Linked DNA regions of Homo sapiens: region 2 is linked to region 1. The links are contacts of gene promoters, found by promoter capture Hi-C in blood cells and fetal thymus (Javierre and others, 2016). All regions are on one chromosome and are shown on one strand. Each heading gives the region's core, a stretch centred on a gene start or on the middle of the fragment in contact. The rest is flanking DNA. Distances are from core to core; before and after follow the strand shown. Region 1 holds the start of NRSN2 (neurensin 2). Region 2 has its middle 4.2 kb from the start of TBC1D20.

Region 1 (6,368 bases), core at 1-2,500:
GAGGAAAAACAACAACAACAAAAGCCACGACAGAGAACGGGAAAAGGCAGAGACTGAAAGCGAAGGACCGTCGGAGGAGGAGGGCGAGAGGTCTGGAGAGGAGGGCTCGCCGGAGGAGGCGGGCGGGGCGGGCTGTGCGGAGGGTGCGGCCAGCGCGGTACCCGCCCCGGCGAGGCGCTGGGGAGGCCCGGGTGGGGAGAAGAAATGGGGCCTGGGGGACGGTAGGAGCCTCCGTGCGGAGACCACTGTTCAAGGCCACAGGTGAGGAGGTGTGGAGGGGGCTTCGGGGCTGTTGACCTGGGTCAGCTCCTCCCCTCCAATTCACCGCTTCCGCGACTCCAAATAGATGGAATCACTCAGTCCTGCTGCTACTGGAGAGGGAAGGTGACCTTGACGCTGCCTCCCGCTCGGCCTGGCCCCTCCGCCTGGCGTTTCAGGGCTGCACGGAGTAGGTCTGGCGGGCGGGGGGCGGGGCGCAGGCACCCGGGACGAGGGTTGCCATGGGAACCGCTAGGGAGGCGTCCCCAGCCCGGGAGCCGGGAGGAGCTCGGTGGGAGGGGAGCGGGAGGCGGAGGGGGCTGCGCTGTCCGACGTGGGGAGACTGCGGCGGAGGGAGGAGGCGAGGGGCGGCAGGCACGGGCGGAAGTGACGGAAGCCAGGGCCCGAAGATGGACGGAATCTGTCGCCTCTGCACAGCCTCATTCAGTTGTGTCCTTCCCAGACCCTCAGACTCGCCCACTACAGCGTCCAGCGCTGCCCGGGCGGGGGAGAAGGGGCGCCCTCCCGGGGGGGATGGGTAGGGGGTGTCGGCCGGGGAAATCAGGCCATTTCCCGCCTCCCTTCCCCACCGGCACCCGCGCCACTCTTCCTGACAGGACCACCGATGCCCTGCTCCACACCAACTGCGTCCTTTTCCCTAGAGAGAAACTGAGGCAGAGAGGGGTAGGAATGGGTTTTTGAAGTGTTGGCGGGGGTGGGGGTGTCCTTTGAAGCCTCTACCCAGCCTATCAACCCTGAGGCGTCGAGGGGCGATGGGGCTGTTTCTGTCTCCCGCCCCTGCTGCTTCCCTGGGACCCCCACCTCCCAAAGCCGAGGCTCAGGCGCAAAGGTCCCGGCCCTGGCGGGACACGGCCCGGGCTGAGGATGCGGGCAGAGCGCGGGGGTTCTCCAGGGGCTGGGGCTGGGGCCTGGCCGCGCGTGGGGCAGGGCTAAGCTCACCTCTCTGCCTGCTGTCTCCGCCGAGCAAAGGCGGGTCCGGTTCGCGCCTGCGCCGCAGTTCGGGGCGGGGGAGGGGGCGCCGGCCCGCCTCAGGGCCTGGCTCTGCAGACGGCGGCCGCCTGCAGCTCCCCCGGCTCCTGTCCCCTTCCAGAGTTCCCTGCTCGCTCGGACACCCCAGCGCCCTCACAGAGACCCCTCGGACTCCCTGGGCCCCAGCCCCTCACGCAGCCCCTCAGACTCCTCACCGAAGCTGCCGTCACTCCCGCAGTTCCCCACCCCTCCCGTGGAAGACCCATCCCTTAACCGAGCCTTCCTCTCCTCGCTGCACCGTCAGTCCCTTTTCCAGGTCTCCATCCCCCTCATGGAGCCCCACCCCAGCGTAGAAACCGCTTCTCCTCGCCGGGCCCCCGCCCTCTTCACAGGCTCCCATCTGTCTCCGGGCTCCTACCGGGAAGTCCCCTCCCACTTGCCTTGAGAGCCGCTAATCCCTCTGGAGTCCTCACATCTCACTCAGTCCCCATCCTCTTTTCATCCTCTTTTCCTCTTTGAGTCCCTACCCATCCCTGGTACGGGATCAGCCCTTGTACCTTGAGAAGGGAGTTTGGGTGGAGGACTCGGGGTTGGGAGAGAAGTGACCTCCACTTTGGAAGGAGCTAATGACAGCCTCCCTTGTTGTTTCCTCCCCTAGCCCCAGTTCTGCCCTGGGCAATGCGTGCCCACTGCCCATCTCCCTGGAGAGCCAGCCTGTGCCAGGCAGCTGCATCTGCCTCCCACCCTGTCATGAGCTGTCAGCCTTGATTTTGTCCCACATTTGCTGTGTGATCTTGGGAAAGTCATTGTGCCCCTCCAACCGTCATCAAGCACCCTTGCACAGACATGCCTTTGTGTCTTGAGCATCTATTCTGTTTCTCCTTGTGCTAGGGGCTGGGGACACACAGAAGAATGAGCTCGGCAAGATAGGGCCACATCTTCCTTTTTAGTTTTTCTTTTTCTTTTTTTTTAATTTTTATTTTTTTGAGACAGCGTCTCACTCTGTTGTCCAGGCTGGAGTGCGGTGGCATGATCACGGCTCACTGCAGCCTCGATCTCCCAAGGCTCAGGTGATCCTCCCACCTCAGTCGCCTGAGGAGCTGGGACTACAGGCACGCACTACCATGCCTAGCTAATTTTTTGTATTTTTAATAGAGACAGGGTTTTGCCATGATGCCCAGGCTGGTCTTGAACTCCTGAGCTCAAGTGATCCACCTGCCTCGGCCTCCCAAAGTGCTGGGATTGTAAGCGTGAGCCACCGCGTCTGGCCAAGGCCACATATTTCTTGTTCGTGTTGTATCTGTGAGCCTCCCATAGTGCTTGGCACTGAGTAGGCAGCCCAGTAAATATTTACTGAAGACAGTCTAATAATAGTAGCAAACTTATTATGCTCACTATGTGCAAAGTGTTTAAGCGTTTTGTATGTTCTATTTACTTACTCATTTAAGTGTGTGTGTGTGTGTGTATGTGTGTGTGTGTGATGGGAGGAACTCTTGCAGCTCAAAACTAAAGGCCCCAAATGGTGACAGGAGATGGCATTGGAGAGGCAGGCAGAAGTGAGACCTTGTGGGGCCTCATAAGCCAAGGTAAGGAGTTTGAGCTTCAGCCCAAGGGTAGTGGGGAGCCATGGAAGGGTTATGAAGAGGGGTGGGATGTGATCTGATTTTCATTCTGAAAAGACCTCTGGCTGCTGTCAAGAGAACAGCATGTTGAGCACAAGAGTGACAGCAAGAGATCAGCAAAGAGATCAGAGATGACAGTGTCTTGGCCTGGTGCAGAGAAATGAAGACATTCAAGAGATGTTAGCCTGTAAAATGAACTACAGGAATAGCTACAGATTGGAAACAACCTGTGGTGGTTTTAAAATATAGCTACAAATTCTTTAGCACTCCTCTGTAGAGAGGTGGGATCCTTGTACCCTCTCTGAATCTTGGGTGAGCTGATGACTGCTTCAACCAATGGAGTACGGTGGAAGTAACACTCTGACTTCTAAGGTCCAGACATAAAAGTACAGGCAACTTCTGCTAGAACTCTAGCTCTTGGAGCCTGAGGCACCATGCCTACCTAGGGCTCCATGTCTGCTTAGAGGCTGCCATGCTGTCAGGATGCCAAGACCATCAGGAGAGGACACATGAAGGCACCACAGTCCCAGCTAAGCTTAGCTTTGAGTCATCCCAGTTCAAGCATAAAAGAAGTGAGTGAAGAAGAACCAGATGAGGCCAGGCACGGTGGCTCACACCTGTAATCCCAGCACTTTGGGAGGCCAAGGCGGGTGGATACCCTGAGTTCAGGAGTTCGAGACCAGCCTGGCCACATGGCAAAACCCCGTCTCTACTAAAAATACAAAAATAGCCGGGCATGGTGGCGTGCACCTGTAATCCCAGCTACTAGGGAGGATGAGGCAGGAGAATTGCTTGAACCCGGGAGGCAGAGGTTGCAGTGAGCCGACATCATGCCATTGCACTGTAGAAGGCGAAGGGGAAGGGGAAGAACAAGATGATTCCAGTGGCCAGCCATTTGAATCAGCTTCAGCCTTCAAATCTTCAAATCTTCCTAGCTGAAGACTCAAACATTGCAGAGTAGAAACAAGCTGGCCTCACTGTGTCCTGCCTGAATTCCTGACACACAGAACCCACAAGCATATTCAAGTGGTTATTGTGTTATACCACTAGGTTTGGGGGGTTTTGTTCTGTGCTAACAGATAACTGGGACACCACTTAAATATCCATCAATGGAAGACGAGTTATGTACATTATATGTCTTTGTGGAATACTATGCATCCATTAGAAAGAAGAAATTAGTCTATAATTATTTATATTAATCACACTTCAAGTGAAGAAGGATGCAGTGTTCTGAAAAGTCTTGATAGTATGCCTCCATTTGAAATTCTCAAAAAGATGGCACATATAGAGAACTTCTGGGAAAATAGACAAGAAAGAGGTAACAGTAGATGCCTTGGGGGAGGGTAACTGATGGCAAGGGTGGGAATGAAATTCACTTTTTTTTTTTTTTTTTGAGATGGAGTCTCGCTCTGTCACCAGGCTGGAGGGCAGTGGTGCGATCTCAGCTCACTGCAACCTCCGCCTCCCGGGTTCAAGCGATTCTCCTGCCTCAGCCTCCCCAGTAGCTGGGACTACAAGCACATGCCACCATGCCCAGCTAATTTTTTTTTGTATTTTTAGTACAGATGAGGTTTCACCATGTTGGCCAGGATGGTCTCTATCTCCTGACCTCATGATCTGCCTGCCTCGGCCTCCCAAAGTGCTGGGATTACAGGCATGAGCCACTGTGCCCGGCCGAAATTCACTTTTTACTATACACCTCTATGTTAGTTATCTATTGATTTTGTAAAAATTTAGGTGAGAAATGATGAAGAATTGGAGTGGGCAGGAAAAATGGAAAGGAGGGTGCAGGTGTGAAAAATGTCCATAAAGTTAAGTTGGCAGAACTTGGTTACTAAGAAGTAAGGGAAGTGACAGGGATTGAGAGAGAGAGAGAGAGACAGAGAGAGGGAGAGAGACAGAGAGGATAGAGGCTGACTTTTATGTTTATAGGTCAGGTGGGTGATGCTCCCATTAACAGAGATGTAAAATAGATGAGGGAAAGCCAGGTTGTGGAGAAGTTGATGCCCTTTGCTTTTGGCAGAGTTGAATGGCACTGTACAGGACATTCTGGCCTAGAGTCAGGGGCAAGGTCTTGGCCTTAGATACAACATAGGGAATTGTTCTCACTGGAAATGGCAGTTTTAAACTTGAACTGGCTTTAAACAAAGGGAATATAAAGGCTCACATAATTGAGAAGTCAAGGGATACTGGCTTCAGGCATGGCTGTATCCAGATGCTCAGGATCTTTCTCTTTATCTCTTGGCTCTTCCCTCATCTGTGTTGGCTTCAATGTCAGGCAGATTTTCCCTATATGGTAGCAAAATGGCCACAGACTTCAAATTTAACTGCTGGGAAAAGAATCTGTTTCTCCTTATAGTCTCAGGAAAAGCCCTGATGTTGATTCCCCTCACCCCAGTTAGATAATATGTCATTTACTGAACCCACTGGAGTGTCTCTGATTGGCTGGTTACTTGCTCACCCTTTGGGTGGCTGGCAGTGCTTAACCCAGAGAAACCTCTTGGACTGAGAACCTGCTTGAAGAGCTTCCCTAAAGGGAAATTGAAATACTGTTACTGTAAGAAAGGGCAGTGGGGCCAGGCCCAGTGGCTCATGCCTGTAATCCCAGCACTTTGGGAGGCTGAGGCAGGTGGATCACAAGGTCAGGAGTTTGAGACCAGCCTGACCAACATGGTGAAACCCTGTCTCTACTAAAAATACAAAAATCAGCCGGGTGTGGTGGCATGCACCTGTAGTCCCAGCTACTCCGGAGGCTGAGGCAGGAGAATCACTTGAAGCTGGGAGGCGGAGGTTGCAGTGAGCCAAGATCGTGCCACTGCACCGTAGCCTGGGTGATAAGAGTGAGACTCTGTCTCAAAAAAAAAAAAAAAAAAAAAAAAAAAAAAAAAGGGCAGTGGATGTAGAGCTGGCAAAAACAATGACATTGAGATGAAGCGTGCTCAGGTCAGAGCTCTAACGAAGCCCTCTGCTGCAGACTGAATGTTTGTATCTCCCTCATATTCATATGTTGAAGTCCTAAGGTGATGTTATTTGGAAGTGGGCCTTTGGGAGGGATTACAGCCTGATAAGAGGAGACTTGAGAGCTTGCTTCTTCTCTGTGCCATTTGGGGCTACAATAGGATGGTCGTCTGTACACCAGAAGTCAGGCCCTTGGTTGCCAGCAGAATGGAATTTGCCAGCACCTTGATCTTAGACTCTTCACCCTGCAGACCTGAGGAATAAATGTGTGTTGTCAAGCCACCTGCTCCATGCTAAATTGTTATAGTAGCCCAAGCAGATTAAGATGCCTCTGTTTGGCTGTCTATGGCTGCATAACAGACCACTCCAAATCCAATGATTTTTATCATCTTTCACAATTTCTGTGGGTCAGGAATTTGGGAAGGGCTCATCTGGGTGGTTCTGCCTTGGTGTCTCTTTTGTGGTTACAGTGGAAGCCGGAGCACTGGGGAGCTGGAGCAGCTGGGAGCTGGCCAAGCATCTCTCTTCATATAGCCTCAA
Region 2 (6,833 bases), core at 2,415-4,914, 120 kb before region 1:
ACTTTTTACTGATGGCTCTGGTAAAAACAGAAAAGCGCCTGTTTGGTGGAGACTGCATAATTTCCTCACTCATTCTGGATTTACTAGCACTCAGAGAGCTGAGGTTGGAGCCTTAATATTGCCCCTGGAGAACTTTTCCACTCTGCCTATCAATATTAGTGACTCTGCTTACTCTGTTTATTTATTGCAAAACCTTAAAACAGCCCTCATTAAGTCCACTCTCAAGCTCACCCTGTGTGCACTTTTTCTTCAACTTCAGCAATTGCTGGATCAACGTACACATCCTATTTTTATCACACATATTCGAGCCCACAGCTCACTGCCTGGCCCACTGGCTTATGGCAATGAACAAGCAGACCTGCAAGTTATGATGTCACTGCTTCACCAAGCCATGCAGTTGCGTCAATTTTTCCACCAAAATTGAAGGAACTTAACTGAACAATTTCAACTTACCCAAAGACTAGCTAAACAAATTATCCTGCAATGCCCGGATTGCCAGCTCACAGGCATGTCCCCTCCTTCAACAGGCGTTAACCCTAGAGGACTAGAACCTAATCAGTTATGGCAAACAGATGTTACTCACGTCCCTGAATTTGGAAAACTAAGATATGTACAAGTATCCATTGATACCTATTCTCACCTAATTAGCACAATGCTCTTCCTGGAAAGTCCACCTGATATGTTATTAAACTCTTCTCTTAACTTTTGCATTTATGGGGCGGCCCACAAAAATTAAAACTGATAATGGTCTGGCTCATGCCAGCTCACAATTTCAACAATTTTGTCACACGTGGAACATCCAGCATTCCACAGGCATCCCGTATAACCCCCAAGGACAGGCCATAGTAGAACGTGTCCACTCTTAAAAATATGCTCAAAAAACAAAAAAGGGGGAGTATGAGTAAGGACCCTGCAACACTACTAGCAAAAGCCTTATTTACCCTTAATTTCTTAAATTTAAATGATAAATTTCAATCAGCTATAGAAAAGCACTTTGCTAAAACCTCTCAAGACATAAAACCCACAGTTTTATGGAAAGATGTAAACAGTAATGTATGGTGTGGTCCAAATGAGTTGCCAACATGGGGAAGAGGATATGGTTGTGTTCACATCACCTCAGGTCCTCTTTGGATTCCAGCACAACGCATCAAACCTTAACATGGTGTGGCTAGGACCCAACCTGGTACCAGAAATGAAGGAAATGTCCCTGCAGGACCCACAGCCCTGGATGATGCAGCTTCCTCAGACGACACAAGCCCCAGACATTACCTGGGGGATGCTGAAGAAGACAACTCAGGAGGCTGAACGAATCCTGCTCTGGACACAAACACCATTCACTCCAGATAATTTATTCCTTACTATGCTTTATTAACCTTGTTTAATTCCCTCACTCTGCCTGCAACCAGTACCTGCTACACTCTATTGGGCCCATCTTCTAAATCTGCTTTTCTTCCACCCTATTACCTGGGTGGACACCCCCTTCCCAGCCTCTAATAACGTAACTGCTTGGCTGGAAGGGGTTAACATACCCCCAGTGGGGTTCCTTAGTAAGGGCACACACTGAACTGAGGTGGCAAGTAACACTACATGTCACTCCTTGATTGGAAAAGAATGTTACTGATTATATTCACGTTTATCTTATGTTATTTACTAATTCTAGGATGCAAAGCCGAAATACAAGCAGTGACCACTACACCTGAAAAACCTGTTGCTGCACATCTGTACTCTTCAATTAACAAAAGCTGATGCAAAAAACAGAAAAGGGGGAGATGTAGGAGATTGGTCAGGGTGGTGGGAGAAATTATAGTAAAGACACAAACCTTCTTGAAAGGCCAGGAGGTTTTACAAAAGCTTTGGAAGGAAATTATGGCTGAAGGCAGCCAAATTGTCTCATCTGGAGCCTGAGAGCAAAGGGCAGATAACAAGGGAATGTAAAGAAACTTATCTAGATAAATTTGTCTACTCCTGTCTCCAGAAACCAACCTTTAATCATTTGCATGCAGGACTGCTCTCTACTCGGGGGGTCAACAATGTTTATTACCCACAAATTGTGTTTGCTCCAAGCCTTTGTCATTAAATCTGTACCAAACAAATGCGAGGGCTGCCGGCTTAGGGGAACTGCTAATTCTCTTCGGCCCCTAGTGCTGGCAGTCCCCTATCCTGCTCTTTCACTGGATATCTGTATCTGAGTACTCCTTTCATCCGTCGCTTGGGCAGAGTCTGCAGGACAGACTCGGCAAGCCTTCCCAGTAGCTAGGACAACAGGCATGCACCAAAAATGCCTAGATAATTTTTATTTTTTTTGTAGAGATGGGGTTTCACTATGTTGTCCAGGCTGATCTCAAACTCCTGTGTTCAAGCAATCTTCCTGCCTTGGCCTCCCAAAGTGCTGGGAATACAGGCATGAGCCACCCACCCAGCCTATCACAACTCCTAACTAGGTTAATTCAAACCCCCACGCTAAAGACCTAACAGAAGGAAAAGTGTGCCCATTTCTACACAAAACCCATTTCCCTGGGCCTCTACTATCCTACACAAGATGTCCAACTTTCACCAACACTTATGAAGCAAGAGATAAATGACATACTCCCAAGAGACAAAGCAATCTTCAGAACCAAACACAGATGTCAGAGCTATGTGATACAGAATTTCAAATAACTAATATGGTAAAAGGTCTAACAGTAAAAGTAGACAATATGCAAGATCAAAAGTGCAATCTCAGTAGAGAGATGGAAGCTATGAGAACCAAATGGAACTGGTCAAAATAAGAAACACACTAATGGCCAGGTGCGGTGGCTCACGCCTGTAATTCCAGCACTTTGGGAGGCCGAGGCGGGCAGATCACGAGGTCAGGAGATTGAGACCATCCTGGCTAACGCGGTGAAACCCCGTCTCTACTAAAAATACAAAAAATCAGCCGGGCATGGTGGCGGGAGCCTGTAGTCCCACCTACTCAGGAGGCTGAGGCAGGAGAATGGTGTGAACCCGGGAGGCAGAGCTTGCAGTGAGCCGAGATTGCGCCACTGCACGCCTGGAGGACAGAGCGAGACTCTGTCTCAAAAAAAAAAAAAAAAAAGAAACACACTAACAGAGATGCAGAGATGAAGAGTGCCTCATGGAGCTCGTCAGTGGATTTGACACAGCCAAGGAGAGAATGAATGAACTCAAAGATAGGTCAAGAGAAATTATTCAAACTGAAACACTGGGGAAAAAGGGTGAAGGGAAAAAAAACCGTCAAAAGAGAACATCCAAGAGTTGTGGGACAATATCAAACACTCAAACATATTATAGTTAGATTCCCAGAAGAAAGGAGAGAGAACAGGAAAAGAAACATTTGAAGAATTAAAGGCTGAGAACTTTTCAACATTAAGGACAGAGCAAACCACAAAATCCAAGAAGCTCAGAGAACATGCAGAATAAACTCATATATATATATATATATATATATATATATATATATATACACACACACATATAAAATTAGATATACTCGAAATGCTAAAACAAAAGAAAATCTTAAAGGCAGCAAGGAAAAAGAAGACATTGCATACAGAGGAAGCTAAGAATTATGGAGACGTCAGAAACTATGCAAGCTAGAAGCCAATGGAGTGACCTTATTGCTGATGCTGATAGGGGAAAAACACATACACACACAAAAACTGCTCACCCAAAATTCCGGAATCCTATACCCAAATGAAAGTGTCTTTCAAAATAAAGGAGAAATAAACCCTGTTTCAGATAAAGAAAAACGGAATTCATTGCTCCTTCTACAAGATACTAAAGGAAGTTTTTCAGGCAAAAGGAATATGATACCAGAAAAAAACCTGGGTCTACACAATGAAATTAAGAGCACTGGAAATTGAATGAAGGTAAGTACAATTAAAATCTTTTTTAAATTACCTTAGAAATAACTGAAGTGAGCTGGGCATGGGGCTCAAACTTGAAATCCCATCATTTTTGGGAGGCTGAAGCAGGAGGATCCCTTGAGGCCAGGAGTTGAAGGCCAGCCTGGGCAACAGCCCCAATACCTCCATCTCTACAATAGAGGGTCACAAAACTTTTTTTTTTTTTTTTTTTTTTTTATGTGGAGTCTCACTCTGTCACCCAGGCTGGAGTGCAATGGTGTGATCTCGGCTCACTGCAGTCTCCGCCTCCTGGGTTCAAGTGATTCTCCTGCCTCAGCCTCCTGAGTAGCTGGGATTACAGACCTGTGCCACTATGCCTGGCTAATTTTTGTATGTTTAGTAAAGACGGGGTTTCACCACTTTGGCCAAGCTGGTCTCGAACTCCTGGCCTCATGTAATCTGCCTGCCTCGGCCTCCCAAAGTGCTGGGATTACAGGTGTGAGCCACCACGTCCTGCCAATCTTTTTCTATAAAGGAGCAGATAGGCCGGGTGCGGTGGCTCATGCCTGTAATCCCAGGCACTTTGGGAGGCTGAGGCGGGCGGATCACCTGAGGTCGGGAGTTTGAGACCAGCCTGACCAACATGGCAAAACCCCGTCTCTACTAAAAATACAAAAAAATTAGCCAGGCATGGTGGCGGGCTAATCCCAGCTACTCGGGAGGCTGAGGCAGGAGAATCACGTGGACCTGGGAGGCGGAGGTTGCAGTGAGCTGCGATTGCGCCATTGCACTCCAGCCTGGGCAACAAGAGTGAAACTCCATCTCAAAAAAATACATACATACATACACACATAAAATAAATAAATACATAAAGGAGCAGATAATAAATATTTTAGGTTTTGTAGGCCATATCTCTGTTGCAACCACTGAACTCTACCGTTGCAGCATGAAAACAGCCATAGACAGTAGGTAAATGAATGAGCGTGACTCTGTTTCAGTAAAGGTTTATGGACACTGAGATTTAAATTCCATATAGTTTTAATGTGCTACAATTAAGTTGTGATTTTTCAACATTTATCAAGGTAAAAGCCATTCTTAGTTCATGAGCCGTGCAAAATCAGGCAGTAGAGTGGTTTTGGCTTGCAGGTGGGCAGACCATCTTTTTTGCTAACCGCCTGGTCTAAGGCAAGCATATTAGCAATGAATTGTGTACTTGCAGCACATGCAAAAATTTAAAATACTGATAAAATGAATCGTGGTATATTTCTAAGATGAAATTCTACTTAACAACAAAAACAAATGAACTATTGATTAATGCAACATGATTGCTTATAAAATAATTACGCTGAGTAAAAGAAGCCAGACAAAAAAGACTACATACTATATGATTCCGTCCATAAAAAATTCCAGAAAATGAAAACCAATCTATAGTGACAGGATGTAGATCAGTGGTTGTTTGCAAGTGGTTGGTGGGTAGAGGGGAGAAAGCAAGAGAAGGAAGGGATTTTAAAAAGTAAAATGTAGGACAACAGCAAGAAGAACAGGAGGGAAGAAATGGGAATTTATTGTAAGGTCTTTATATTATACATGAAGCGGGACATTTTTTGAAAGTAAATTCTGGCCCAAGCTTCACAACGACCACACAACTGTTTAGTCCTAGAGTTGTGGTGGTGGGAATGGGGTGGGGGTCACTGTTCCATCACTACCAAAAGCAAGAATCCAGCTGGCTGGATGACCAGCGCAGTAAACTGAGAAGGGAATAAATATCTCAAATTGCTTGAGCACGTTACTCTTAAACTGGGATGACTTAAATCTTCCTTCAGTGGGCACTAAGCATCTTTTAACCTCAATGATGATTTATTTCATTTTATTTATTTATTTTTTGAGATGGAGTCTCACTCCGTCTCTTAGGCTGGAGTGCAGTGGCGCAATCTTGGCTCACTGCAACCTCTGCCTCCCAGGTTCAAGCAATTCTCCTGCCTCAGCCTCCCAAGTAGCTGGGATTACAGGCAGGCACCACCATGCCCAGCTAATTTTTGTATTTTTAGTAGAGATGGGGTTTCACCATGTTGGTGAGGCTGGTCTTGAACTCCTGACCTCAAGTGATCTGCAGCCCTTCACCTCCCAAAGTGCTGGGATTACAGGCATGAGCCTCACAGATGATTTAGAACAAAGACTAGAAATGTTTTCAAACTTCTAGTATTAATAATTTTGCATTAAGGCATCTGTGTAAATGTGATACTTTAAATTCCTATAATGTTCAAGATAATTTCAAGAGCTTGGCACTGTGATTCACGCCTGTAATCCCAGAGCTTTGGGAGGCGAAGGCAGTTTGAGACCGGCCTGGGCAACATAGGGAGATTCCCCACCCCCTCTATAAAAACTAAAAAAACTAGCCAGGCATGGTAGTGTGTACCTACAGTCTCAGCTACTCGGGAGGCTGCAACAGGAGGCTAGCTTGAGCCCAGGAGCTTGAGGCTGCAGTGAGCTATGATCGCTATTGCACTCCAGTCTGGGTGATAGAGTGAGACTCTGTCTCAAAAAAAAAAAAAAGATAATTTTGAGAATTCTAACAGATTATTCTTGTACTAATTACAAATATGTATTTGAATAGATTTAGACTTTTGATTTTAAGATGAAATCTCGTTTGTATTGACACATTTGAAAGCACTCATGACTCAGTATTCTTATAAATGTATTACATTTACAAGAATTACACAAGGACTTGAAAGGCTTTGTTAGAAACCTGTGATACTTAGAAAAACGAATTGAATTTATAAATGCAGTTTCAAATGTTCAAAGGATTTTAATTAGCTTAGTTTATTAATGGGACCAAATAACTGATATAATTTACTAGATTTATGAATAGAACTGTAAAACTTGGCTGTGCGCGGTGGCTCACGCCTGTAATCCCAGCACTTTGAGAGGCTGAGGCGGGCGGATCACGAGGTCAGGAGTTTCATGGGCTGGAGGTCTCAGGATAATAAA

Evidence for each region. The method cuts DNA at HindIII sites, captures the fragments that hold promoters and counts their contacts. A CHiCAGO score of 5 or more calls a contact.
Region 2: a contact is called between a fragment that was not itself captured here and the fragment with the promoter of NRSN2 in region 1, in 12 of 17 cell types (naive B cells, neutrophils, activated CD4 T cells and 9 more). The highest score is 8.6, in naive B cells.

Annotation. Positions count from the first base shown.
Region 1 is chr20:341,993-348,360 of GRCh38, reverse strand. NRSN2 (neurensin 2) reads right to left here and starts at 1,250. Exons shown (of 5, transcript NM_001323682.2): 1 at 1,219-1,250; 2 at 849-927. It overlaps LOC101929937 (serine/arginine repetitive matrix protein 2-like), which reads left to right. Exons shown (of 4, transcript XM_047440635.1): 2 at 1-261; 3 at 347-942; 4 at 1,370-2,095. The coding sequence ends at 1,693. RefSeq lists silencers at 143-232, 413-942, 963-1,382 and enhancers at 189-951, 952-1,714, 1,715-2,478. The HindIII fragment of the contact is 16,038 bases long and covers 1-3,407 here.
Region 2 is chr20:463,268-470,100 of GRCh38, reverse strand. No RefSeq gene overlaps it. Among named protein-coding and RNA genes, the nearest start is that of TBC1D20, 4.2 kb to the right of the region's middle. The HindIII fragment of the contact is 3,621 bases long and covers 1,854-5,474 here.